Linked DNA regions of Homo sapiens: region 2 is linked to region 1. Evidence: promoter capture Hi-C in human tissues and cell types (Jung and others, 2019). All regions are on one chromosome and are shown on one strand. The core of a region is centred on a gene start or on the middle of the fragment in contact, and the rest is flanking DNA. Distances in the headings are between cores, read along the strand shown. Region 1 holds the start of AAGAB (alpha and gamma adaptin binding protein). Region 2 overlaps SMAD3 (SMAD family member 3).

Region 1 (6,571 bases), core at 2,543-5,042:
TACAAAAAATTACCCGAGCTTGGTGGTGGGCGCCTGTAGTCCCAGCTACTCAGGAGGCTGAGGCAGGAGAATGGCGCGAGCCCAGGAGGCGGAGCTTGCAGTGAGCCGAGATCGTGCCACTGCACTCCAGCCCAGGCAACAGAGTGAGACTCCGTCTCAATAATTAAAATAAAATAAAATAAAATAAAAAATCTACCCCGTCAGTAATGCCCCTTTTATCCGATGTCAGACATCCACCCAGAATACTGCAAATAAGGCCTTTGAGTGACAAAAAGAAAAAGTTTCTAATGAAGTCCATGCATGCACTTTATGCATAGTAGAGGCCTACTGATTCTTATTTTAAGTGCGTGTGTGTGTGTGTGTGTGTCTGTGTGTGTGTGTGTGTGTGTATTTGAGACAGGGTCTCACTCTGTCACCTAGGCTGGAGGGCAGTAGCACCATCACAACTCACTACAGCCTCGATCTCCCAGGCTCAAGCAATCCTCCCACCTCAGCCTCCCAAGGAGCTAGGACGAAAGGCACATACCACTATGCCCGGCTAATTTGTTAACATTTTTATTTTTATTTTGTAGAGACTAGGTCTCCCTATGTTGCCCAGGCTGGTCTTGAACTCCTGTGCTCAAGTGATCCTCCCGTCCTGGCCTCCCACAGTGTTGGAATTCCAAGCATGCACCACTGCATTTGGACTGTTTTAAGAATAATTCTAATAAGCTGTTACTTGGTTATATTTCCCACTGGTGGTTAAAAGCACTAAGATAGATCAGATGTCCAAAGAAAGAGAAATTGGAGAACCCTAAAGGTTTCTCTCGCTGATACATGAAGTAGAACCAAACTTTCCCAAAAAGGTAGATCCAATTCAATCCAAAACTATTCCACGGCCTAATATCACCGAACACTTGACAAAATATTATGCGGGCTCCATCTCTTACCTCAAAATTAGAGTCAACCTGTGATTAATTTAATCCCAGCTTTAATTATAGTCAAAGAATGAATGCTCAGCAAATACTTCATTTTAACGCTATCCACTGCTACCCTATTCACAACCTTGGAAGAAATTATAAGCCCTCTTTTATGGTTCACTTTTCCTTATTCAAGTAATCTGCTCACTAGCTGTTCTTCTTTTATTTTTTACTACACGACAGTAACGAGTTGCAATGGAAAGGTCATCTGATCTTAACCCGAACTGGAATTATCTAAGAGCATTTTATATACAGAGATAAAATGGATTATTTTACAGAATTAATTTTACCCCCAATAATGCTAATACACTTTACAGAAGTACAATGTTACTATTTGCTAACTACAGGTAATCAGCTACTTCAAGGCAGGGACCATGTTTGCCGATTGGGATCATTAAAGCACACAACAGAGCACCATAGCATTTAGAATAATTAATATTCCTGAGATTGTCTTGAAAAGACTTCCATGTATCGCTAATAGGATTCCTAATGCATGTAAGTCTTTTGGAAAGTTAGTTACATCTTTAAGAATCTTGAGCAAATTCTGGTTTATTCACTAGATGGATATATGTGAGAAACTAATTTTTGATAAATCTGAGGATAAGAACTGTGTATTTAAAAAATTTTTAAAAACAGAAAAAATTGTGTATTAAATGTAATTACAATTATTTCTTTTTAAGAAACTGCAATGGAAAAAAAGACTGGAAAGAAATGTTAGCAGTATTTGTAGTTGGGTAATGAGACTATGGCTATTTTCTTTTCTCTGTATGCTAAATTTTACTTAGTATGCACTAGTTTTACAATGAAACAATTAAAGAAAAAAGAGGAAGGAAGGAAGAAAAGAAGGAAGAAAGGAGGGAAGGGAGAAAATAGGAAGGAGCACTGCTTAAAGGTAAGAAAATGGCCTAATTAGACCAGTTAGTAACCACTTAGTTAAATGCTATAATTAAGCTTTTACCCTAGCAAGGAACTTTCTAAGTGATCACAAATGATAACTAAGTCATATAATATCTGCACTGAAGGGACATCTTACCTAATTCTGTCATTTGACAGGTGTAGCAAAGAAATTATAATTATACAATGCTTTACAGTTTACAAAGTGTGTTCAAAATGTCACATCATCTGTCCTTCAAATACTCCTGAAATAGGCTCATATGCCCCATTTTAAGGATCAGGAAATTGAGGGTTACAGAGATAGTAATGTGCCTTAATAATAATGTCTATGATTTATCAAATGTTTACTATGTGCCAGACTCGGGGATAAGCACAATCTTGCGAAAATTATCCCTATTTTATAGATAGAAGGTGAAGGGGCCGGGCGCGGTGGTGACTCACACCTGTAATCCCAGCACTTTGGGTGGCAAAGGCAGGCAGATCACTTGAGCCCGGGAGTTCCAGACCAGCCTGGGCAACATGGCCAAACCCCGTATGACGGGGGGGGGGGGGGGCAATTAGCCGGGCGTGGTGGCACACACCTGTAGTCCCAGATACTTGGGAGGCTGAGGTAGGGGGATGGCTTGAGCCCAGGAGGCAGAGGTTGCAGTGAGCCGAGATAACGCCACTGCACTACAGCCTGGGCAGCAGAGTGAGACCCTATCTCAAAACAAAAATAAAAAAAAGGAGAGAAAAGAGAAAGTGAAGGGTAGCCAGGCACAGTGGCTCACGCCTGTAATCTCAGCACTTAGGGCGGCCAAGACAGGAGGATCACTTGAAACCACGAGTTGGAGACCAGCCTGAGCAACATAGCAAGACTCTGGCTCTACAAAAAATAAAAAAATTAGCCAGGGTTCGTGGTGTGAGCCTGCAGTCCCAGTTGCTCGGGAGACTGAGGCAGGAGGATCGCTTGAGCCCAGGAGTTCGAGGCTGAAGTGAGCTATGATCGCATCACTGCACTCCAGCCCGGGCGACAGAGCAAGTTCCCGTCTCTTTAAAAAAAAAAAAAGAAAAGAAGGAAGGAATGTAGGTAGGTTAGGTGACTTGCTCGAGATCATACAGCTAAGTCACTGCTCTGATTCTAAGCCATACACTTAAAACAGAAGTCTTGAGTTACCTATAATTCAACTTCACAGAGCCCTTTAGTAGAGTTGGCTTATTATCCAGTCCCATGTTCTCTCTTTTAAGAGTTAGTAAGTCTGACAGCCATTATGAGGGTCTACAAGCAAAAGCACTAGCCCAATCATACCCAAAAACTCATGTTGGCGGAGAGCCCATGCCTCAGATGAAAGGCGTGAATAACTAGAGTGGAGCGGACAAAGCTAACAAGTCTTATAATGTACACATTAAGAAGCAGAATAAACTTCAGAGTAAATACGCAGAATAAACTTCAGAATTCAGAGTAAACACTCTCTCCCGGAGCAGCAAGGATAACAACATCACGATATCAACAATTCCAGCACCTTACACTCCTGTAACCTAGCGCAATTTCCGGAGAGCCTTCAGGTTCATCTCAACGGATCCTCGCAAAAACCTGTGGCCTGGGCTGAGCAGAGCGGGAAATCAGTCTCACTTTACACAGGAAGCCGAAAGGAACGCCGAAGAAGGCCGAGTGGGCAGAAAAGCACGAGATTAAGAGATAGGGGCAGCCACCTGGGGAGACTGGGCGCCTCCACTGACTGGAGGAAGAACGCAGGGCCCGCTGCGGGGACAAGGCCCAGAGAGGCCGTGGTGCTGGGTCCGTCGCCCGCTGAGGCTCAGGGGCCTTGGAGGTCGGCCCAGGCGCCTATCTACTCACGTTGGACCAGCTGGTCTCCTGAGAAGACGGAGGAGCAGCTGGTGACTAACGCACAGGGTACGCCAGCAGCCATAGCTGCGCTCGCGAGCCGGTTCCGTCAGGCAGCCGCTTCCGCCTTGGGCTGCACCACGGCCGCCGGCGCGAGGGGGAGACAGGCCGGAGAGGGCGTTCTCGGAATGACCAGGCTGGCCTGACCCCGCCCCTAGACCCCCTTCCGCTCCCAGCGTGGAACAGGCCAGGTCGCGCGCGGTGTTGCCATGGGGACGAGCGGCTCCGGCTGAAGGTTTCCGTGCTTGGAAACCGCGCCTCCGCGGAGGTAGCCGTTCCCTGACCTAGCCATGGCACAGAACACTGAAAACCACGACCCTGTCGGATCCATCTTAATCCAGGTGGGAAACGGGCTTCCCCCGGCCCTGCCCTGCCCAGCCGCGCCACTTCCGAGCGAGGTCCCGCGCGCCGATTCACCGACGCTCACCCATTTGGTGCGCCGCCCCTAGACTCCCTCCAACTCGCGAGAGGCTCCCAAAAATGCCCACCCAGACCTTCCCCCACGGCCCAGCACACTCCCGGTGACTTACCCTGTAGGTTACGCCCCAGAAGCAGGACTTTCTGCCTCTGGGAAAACTCTAAAACCGTTCACCCGGAACCTTTACTTCAGAAAAATTAACCTCACGCTGAGGCATCATTTTTAAATGTTATATTCTGAAAAATTTGAACCCATGACGTCGGGAGTGGAGGAGAGACAAATCGGACACTCTAGGAGGTGATAAGAAATTTGGAGACAAATTGAAATATGTGAATTGCTTTTCTTAAACACCCCAGTTTTTTAGATCTAAATGTTCCTCATTGGAGAACACACAGAAAAATCAAGATAACTTGGAATGAAAAAATGTGACATTTAAAAACTTAGTGAAAGACCTTTTTAATTTGAGAGGGGAAATGTCAAGAAAGTCTTGTCCAATACAGCTCAATTTGTAATAGTTGCACTCAGATGTTTCTGAAATGATCATGGCATTTTGTTTTCACATTTATGTGAGGTAACTTTAAGATATTTCCACATATATCATCGGTTTTAACTATCACATATATAATAGCTGCATTTGACTAAGTCTTGAAGTCATTTGTCTAAGGTCACTCTGTCAGGACTGTCACTCAGTTGGTCTGAAGTGGGTCTTACTCGTCAAAGGGATCTAATTTTTCTGGCAGAATTTTGATCTCTTACCTCCCATCTAGGAGAGACTTCCCTAAATGTACCTTTTCCCAAATACAAGCCCCTGAACTCACCAATTTCATAGACTTCCCCATTAAGAATCATACCTAATCTTACCTGATCTTTTCTCACCCTCACTTTCACCATCACGCAGCAATGAGTTTAGCCAAACTGCGAAGTCTGAGGGAACGGTCCACAAAAAACTGCCCTAACTTCAACACTCACTACCTGCAAGTTCAGGGGTCCCCAGAACCACCTCACTTCAGACCAGCTGGGTACAAACTTAGGGGCCCCATCACCACCCTCACATTCAATGATTCACTAGAACTATTCGCAGAGCTCAGGGAAGTGCTGTGCTCACATCTCCAATTTTATTATAGTGAAGGCATACAAATTAATCAGCCAAGGAAAGAGATGAATAGGACAGAGTCCAGGAGGGGTACAAACATAGAGCTTTTGGTCATCTTATCCCTGTGGAGTCATTGACGTCATTACCTGCATTACTTCCTCCCAGCCATGATATGTGACAATATGCATAGAATATTGCAACTAGAGAAGCTTATCTGAGGCTTTGATGTCCAGAGTTTTTACTGGGGCTCAATCTCACACTGCCCTTGTGGTTGACCATTAATCTCCAGCCCCTCCTGAATACTTTTAGTTTCCCGCTGCTCCAGAGGTCTGAGCTGATACAGCGTGGATCAAAACACCCATTATAAATCATGTTGATAGACTGTCTGGTGGCCAAAGCCCACAGACAAAGACACTTCTATCAGGCAGGACATCCCAGGCGCCTAGAGATCACCTCCCAGTAGCCAGGAGCGAAGACTGGACCCCTCTTTGGGTAAGGTTAATTCTTTGCTGCACATACCCACTCTTTTTATAGATTCCAAATAATTAGAACAATAATGGAGACTCTTACCTAGGATACAACATTATAGTAATAGATAACTGTTGACACTGACTTGTGAGATGGGTCAGAAGAGCTAATAGTCATATCCATGTTGATCTGCACCCCTACTTATTTAAAAGGATTCCTGTGGACATATCAAGTAAAGGGCTGTGTAGAGGAAGAGAGCCTACCTGTTAACCAGATTATTAAGACTGATTCCTGTATAGTATAAAATTCTATTCTCTACATGTAGAATATGTATAGTGAGGAAATTTGGAAGACTTTCCCTACTTTCTCAGTGAATCCTGAGAATGTGTGAGTATGTAGCACCACCCAACTGTGCCAACGTGGATTCCACTTCTATTTGGGGCTATGATTTATTTCCCTCAGACAGGCTACCAATAATTAGTGTGTCTAGTGGAAAGCACTTGATAGGGAGTCAGAATACTGAGATCTGACCATGACTTTGACAGTCTCACAAGTAGTGACTTTGAGTTAGGCACTCATCTCTCTGGACCTCACTTTCCTCTTCCATAGGACATATAGTTTGGATTAGGTTCACTTCTGACTTTAAATTGTCCCAATTTCCCCAGGCTACATCATTTACTGTAAAAGTAGACTTCCTTTGTTGTTAGCCTAGGCAATCAAATTGTTTCTGGCAAGTCAGTGACTGAGTGAGTGTGTGTGTGCAATAGACTGTAAAGCAGAGGTACTTTAAATTTCTACTTGCTTCACCCTAATATGGTCAGTTACGTCTGTGTATCAGTCAGATATATTAAACA
Region 2 (6,571 bases), core at 3,013-5,512, 100 kb before region 1:
GTTTACAGAGCCCGGGAGATGGGCCCAGGCTTGACAGCCGGGCCGACTTGAAAGACAGGCTGCAGTGGACTGTGGCCCCAACAGCTGGGTGTGTGCAGGGTGGGAAATGCCAGGCACAGCCGCTCCTCCACAGAAACCACTCTGTTCTTTCTGCTCTTGATGGAAGCTCCTGCCCTTTATTGTGGTGTTAGCTTCTTTGTTCAGTTACACCGACAGCTGAGTTTTCTATTTGGGGCCATAGTTTTGGGGTCATGATTCCTGGAGTAGAAAAAAAACAACATAGGAGCTCACTCAGAAGGATCCCTGGGTAAATGCCATCCTTTCCTGGGCCCCAGTTTCCTCACGTGTTCAGGGGGAAAAGAAGGTGGTGGTGAAATGCCCCCCACCAGCTCCAAAGTCCTGTGGTTCTGAGGCTGGAATATTCTGCAAAAGGACATTTGCACACCACCCTTCCACTGCCCCCGCCCCAGTGTCGTGTCCAGGTCCAGTTCTACCAGCCACAGATGTGAGCATGTCTGGAACCTGTCTACCTGTCTCATTCATTCCATGACCTCTGATTTTTGAGGTCAGTAATTCTGCAGCCTCCCTCACCTTTCTGGTTTAAAGCAACCTCCTCTCTCAGGAAGTTGTTTGAAATCAATTTAATTCCTTTATATCCCACATGACAGCTACGACTGCCACTGTTTAGTTGATGTTGGCGTCGGGTTTGGGGCTTACTTGGCTTTTGTGTTTGCTTCTAACCTGCAGAAAGAGTCAAAGTTCTGAAGTTTTCTCTCTCATCCTTTCTGTTTGTTGCTCCATGTACAGTAGGGAAGAGGAATTTTTGTTGGTAGTCCACATTTTTGATTACTTATTTGCTCTGCTGCTATATTATGATTCAGGTTTTCTCCAAGGCCCTAGGTGCCTAAAAGCATTGAAGGAATGAGAAGTGTAGACACAGAACACCTTTAAGCCACTTCCCCCTGCAAATTAGTGTATTTCACAGGTATTTGGAATGCTAGAAGGTACTAGAAGGTGAGAAGACACTAGAGATCCGTTGAACCCATCATTTTTTAAATGAGATAATCCATACCTAAAGACTCCTCCATGAGTCGGTAGCACAGCCAGAGGGAGGGCCACACACACCCCTGTCATCTAATGAGCAGCCAGGGCTCCAGTCCATCCCCAGTGTGGGCCATATATCTGTGTGCTTTCTCCTCTATTAAATCCAACACTTGATAAAAATCTCCAGTTAACAAATATTTGTTGAGCAAGTTTATTGCAAATCGCTGTATTTAATGTCTGCCTACAACCTTAGCCACAGATGACTCTCTCTCCCTGGTATGGCAAGTGGGCAGAGCTTCCTCATTCAAAAACATTTTAGCTTCCTGCACTTCCCCGCTGGTTGCTTTCGCCTAACTGGCACCTGTGGCTGTCATTCCCCTGCTGTTTTTAATTGCACCTCTCAAGACCAGCTGATTGCTTAAAGAACATTTCTGGTATTGGGCCCATGGCAGTAATGTGCGTCTGTGGATCCCTTTGCTATGAGGCTTGACTTCTTGATCGGGTTCACAAGGCTGGTGGGCAGCCTGAGATCTTTGCTTATTTCCTACGTCTTCTGAAAGGTACTATGAAGCTTACCAGTTGCTGATGCACGCTATCAGCTAATAATTCCATTACCATTACTATTTTCTGAGCAAATGTGACCTGCAAGCCCCTCGCTCCATCCAGGATGCAGGCAAAGTTAAGCTAGGTTTCCTTTCCCTCAAGGAGCTCCTGGCACAGTTGGGAAGGGAAGTCAGAAACACACAGAAGTCACTTCATCATACCAGGCCTTTGGTGCTAAATGATGATGAATTTGAAGAGTGTGGGACAGTGGGGATGGTGGACTGTAAGAGTTCGAGGAGGGGAGGATGGAGAGAGGTCATTCTTAGCAGAGAGCCACAGAGTGGGTTACTGTTTGAGCTGGAAGATAATTGGACCTCCAAGGGCTCTGTCCCCACCTGCACCTCAGCGCACTATGCTGGTGGCCAAGAGTGCAGGAGCCTCACATTCAGATACTGTGGCTGCAACATTTTACCTCCACTACTTGGGCCTGTTCAGCATTTTGAGTTTCTATGCCTGTAAATTAGGCCTGTCTAGGAAGTGGGGGTGAGGTGGTGGGTGGGCAGGTGCTCTGAATCTCAGCTGGGACTGGGTGGGCTGATACCGGGGAGAGTTGTAAGTATCTAGGACCCAGCGGGAGGACGCCTCACCTGGAACCCTTTGCTTGTTCCTGATTGTAGCTGTTTTAGGGATGCAGCTTTCAGACAAGGGCCACTTAGTTGATGAGGCCGGCTTAATCGAGGAGGGCTGTTGCCACCCTGACATTGTTAAGTGTGGGCCTGGCTTCTCTGAAGTCCTCCTTTCTTGCTTGTGTGGAATTCCTGTTTTCCTGCCCATAGGGGTTCTTTGCTGTCTTAGGTGAATTGCCCCAATGAACCAGAACCTTTTTTTTTTTAGGTACAATAGGAGGTCTGTACCCTTAGACAGAAAGGAATGCTAATTGGCCACTTAACTGTCCTCAGGGTACAGATGCCAGAATATACAGGGCACCCATTCTTTGTTACCATTTGGGATGGAAACTGCTTATATAAGCTTGTAAAGCTTTGGTTCAGAAAGCAAGAGAATGTGTATGGAACGTTAGCAATTGCTGTCATGCAAATGCTGCATTTTTTGCATGTAAAGGTACCTCTTTACCTCCATGGTCCTTAAACTAACTTTTTCAAGAAACATGGTCATTTCCCACCCTTCCTTTACTTCCAGCTCCCCATTCATACCCAACAGTGGCTAACTGAAAGGTTTGCAAATCCTGAAGGCTTTGGGGCTTCTTTTAAAAAGAAGAGACTGAGTTGTAAATGTCATAAGACTGAGATGGTTGTAAATGTCCCAACCATACTGTGTGACATTTGCTAGGAATTGTTGTAAAATCACTGGAGTGAGCGCTTGTCCTGAGGCACTGCCTCTCCGCGTGAATGTCACTGAGTCGCCCGGTTGACCCGTTGCATGTTATGCAGCACTTGTGACATTGTTTTATCTCTCTAGCCGGTGACTCATAATTAAGGAAGTCAAAACTGTGCAATTAACACAAAACCTCCTCATTTGCCCTCTTCACCTCTCCCCAACCCCCGCCCCCAGTCAGGAATGCCCGCCTGACATTTTCTCTAAGTCTTTGGAAACTTTAAGATTTGTTTTGATAGAACAAGGCCGCCAGTTATCATCGCCTGGTTCCACTTGTTTTACCCCAAAAGTCTGTGAGAATCTTTTCCAGGAAAAAAAAGAAAGAAAGAAAGAAAGTAAATCCCACCCCCAAGCGTGCAGTCTGCCCACAGGAAGTGATTCATGGTGCTCCGATTCGGGCAGACCTGACTGCAGGAGGCGGGAGGCTGGGAACCAGGTCTGGGAAAAGAGGGCAGAGAGAGGATACCCAGACCTAATGGCTTCTGCTCTGTGGAAGAAAGTGAAAAACAGAATGACTAAGAGTCCTGTAATAAGAATTGTTTGTTTTGTGAAGTTGAACTAATAGTGAGGTTTGCCGGCAGATAAGACTTGAGAAATTGCAGTTGTCAGGGGAGGGGACTTTTCCATGTCCTGCTTTTTTTTTTTTTTTTTTTTTATTAAGAGAGCAAAGCTATTTCTCAGTCTTTTTTTTTTTTTTTTTTTTTTTTTTGAGATGGAGTCTCTCTCTGTCGCCCAGGCTAGAGTGCAGTGGCACAATCTCGGCTCACTGCAACCTCCACCTCCCAGGTTCAAGTGATTCTCTTGCCTCAGCCTCCCCAGTAGCTGGGATTACAGGTGCCCACCACCATGCCTGGCTAATTTTTTTGTATTTTTAGTAGAGACGGGGTTTCACCATGTTGGCCAGGTTGGTCTTGGAACTCCTGACCTCAGGTGATCTGCCCACCTTGGCTACCCAGAGTGCTGGGATTACAGACGTGAGCCACCACGCCAGGCCTTATATCTCAGTCTTAAGACATTCATATATTAGTGGAAGGCCCAGATTTGTGTTTCAGTTCTACCTTGCCACCTCTAAGCCTGTTTTCTTTTCTTTGGAGAAGAGGGTCTAAGATGAGACCATTATCTCACAGTCTCCAATAGCTCTTTCTCCCCATTTTCCCTTTTATTTATTTATTTATTTATTTATTTTGAGACGGAGTCTCTCTCTGTTGCCCAGGCTGGAGTGCAGTGGCACAATCTCGGCTCACTGCAACCTCCACCTCCTGGGTTCAAGCGATTCTCCTGCCTCAGCCTCCTGAGTAGCTGGGACTACAGGCTTGCGCCACCATGCCCGGCTAATTTTTGTATTTTTAGTAGAGACAGGGTTTCACTATGTTGGCCAGGCTGGTCTCGAACTCCTGACCTTGTAATCCACCCACCTCAGCCTCGCAAAGTGCTGGGATTACAAGCATGAGCCATTGCACCCAGGCTATTTTCCCTTTTTCCTTTCCCTCTAAAGTTAGAGTTTTTGAAAAATATTTGATTTTTTTAAATTGACAAATAATTGTCCATATTCATGGGATACATAGTGATGTTTTGATACATATTAATGTCATTATGGTGATCACATCAGGTTAATTAGCATCTCCATCCTGTCAAGCATTTATCATTTCTTTGGGTTGGAAGCATTCAATATCCTCCTTCTATTTGAAACTATGTAATATATGAATGTTACTATGTATGTTACTATATAAGCATTCAATATTCTCCTATTTGAAACTATGTAATATATGATTATACATAGTAACAATCATATATTACATAATAATTGTAAACTATGTAATAATAATATTGTAATATATGATTGCTAGATATTTGAAGCTATATAATATATTATTGTTAAGTATAATCATCTTACAGTGGTTTAGGACACTAGAACTGATTTTTCCTCTTTAGCTGTAATTTTGAGACCTTTAACAAATTTCTCCCCATCCCTCTGTTCCCTTTACACTTTTCAGCCTCTAGTATCTTCTATTCTGTTTTTACAAAGTTAGAGTTTTGGGGCTGATAAATGTTTTTACCTAAATACTCATTTTTGTTTCCACCAAATGGAACATCATGTTGTCGTAGAATGAAGGAATCCTTTCTGTCCTATGGGTTATTTTCTTCTCCCTCAAACTGACAATGCAAATTAATTTGATTCCCCAAAGTAGTTTGGAAACAGAGAAGACTCTAAGTGTTGGCTACATGAACAGGCCTGCTGCCGAGCGAGAGGCCCAGATCACCCAGAATGAGAAGATGGGTCTAAACACACCTGGCTTTGTGACTTACTCCATTTCAAGCTTCCTGTATTGTTGGAGGTCAGCTTTTGGGGGTGAGGGATTTTAATGAAAGCTGAGGTGAAGTCCACTGTTGCCTTAAGCCCATCAGAACGTTGCCAAGGGCTGTGAGTATGCTGAATGGGTCCATGAGTGATCTCTTAAAAAAACATAAACCATTGTCAGGCCTAATTTTCAGCAGAGTGAAATGGCCACCCAGAAGATTCTGTGAAGCCTGGCAACTTTTCCCTTTCTTCCAGTAGTCACAGACCAACCCAGATCTTTGTAGCATCTTTTATTTGTGACTTGAAAGTTCTATGATCCTGCTGACACTCAAGAAAAAGCAATCCCCATCAACTTGGTGCTTGGAGAAAAAAGTTTGTGAAGACCAAAGCTATTAAATAGAAAAGCCCTAAACACTCTCCTCCTCCTCCTCCTTCAATATTTAACCGTCTTCTTTGCATGGGGGAAGGGAGGGGCTCTCACCACAGCCAAAAGAGAATCTCTGCTGATTTAAACCCAGTGTGCTTTGTAGTCATAGAGAACTGAGTTTGGAGTGTAACATCTAGGTTCAAGCCCAGGCACTGTTCCTTGCTGGGTGACTTTGGGCAAGTCACTCAGCATCAAAAATTTTTCATCTGTAAAATGGGAGTGATGAGATACTCAGCCTGCAGGATCCCTTTATCCAGTGAGTTACTGAGTGAGAAGTGCTGGGTAAACGCTTGCTCTGAGGTGTAAATTGCTTCTGTTTGGCCAGGTGCAGTGGCTCACGCCTGTAATCCAAGCACTTTGGGAGGCTGGGGCAGGTGGATCACCTGAGGTCAGGCGTTTGAGACCAGCCTGGCCAATATTGTGAAACCCCGTCTCTACTAAACATGCAAAAATTAGCCAGGCGTGGTGGTGCATGCCTGTAATCCCAGCTACGCAGAAGGCTGAGGCAGGAGAATCACCTGAACTGGAGGTTGCAGTGAGCCAAGATCACTCCGCTGTACTCCAGCCTGGGCAACAAGAGCAAAACTCCGTCTTGGGGGGCGGGCGGGGGGGATTCCTTCTGTTTTCCCGCATCTTGCTCATCTCAGAGCATTTCCTTAGCCCAGGGGGATCTCAAGGGGAGGGAAGAGAGCAGATTTGCCCCCCAGGGGACATTTGGCAATGTTTAGAGGTATTTTTTTTCAGTTGTCACAGCTGCAGGTGGGTCACAGCTACCGGCATCCAGTGTGAGGGAGCCAGACATGCTGTTAAGCATTCTATATCTGTCTCTACACAGGACAGCCCCCTAGCCCCAACAAAGATTAGCC

Evidence for each region. The method cuts DNA at HindIII sites, captures the fragments that hold promoters and counts their contacts. A contact is called where the count stands out against the background at its distance.
Region 2: a fragment that was not itself captured here is called in contact with the fragment with the promoter of AAGAB in region 1 in 6 of the 25 tissues and cell types used here (H1 embryonic stem cells, IMR-90 fibroblasts, aorta and 3 more).

What each region holds. Positions count from the first base shown.
Region 1 is chr15:67,250,869-67,257,439 of GRCh38, forward strand. It overlaps AAGAB (alpha and gamma adaptin binding protein), which reads right to left and starts at 3,793. Exons shown (of 10, transcript NM_024666.5): 1 at 3,691-3,793. The coding sequence starts at 3,763. It overlaps IQCH (IQ motif containing H), which reads left to right and starts at 3,918. Exons shown (of 21, transcript NM_001031715.3): 1 at 3,918-4,079. The coding sequence starts at 4,029. RefSeq lists an enhancer at 3,534-3,853. The HindIII fragment of the contact is 6,332 bases long and covers 1-6,125 here.
Region 2 is chr15:67,147,186-67,153,756 of GRCh38, forward strand. The region is part of intron 1 of SMAD3 (SMAD family member 3); the gene reads left to right. Among named protein-coding and RNA genes, the nearest start is that of SMAD3-AS1, 3.5 kb to the left of the region's middle. RefSeq lists enhancers at 1-768, 1-140, 1,147-1,954, 2,762-3,569, 6,093-6,262. The HindIII fragment of the contact is 4,294 bases long and covers 2,116-6,409 here.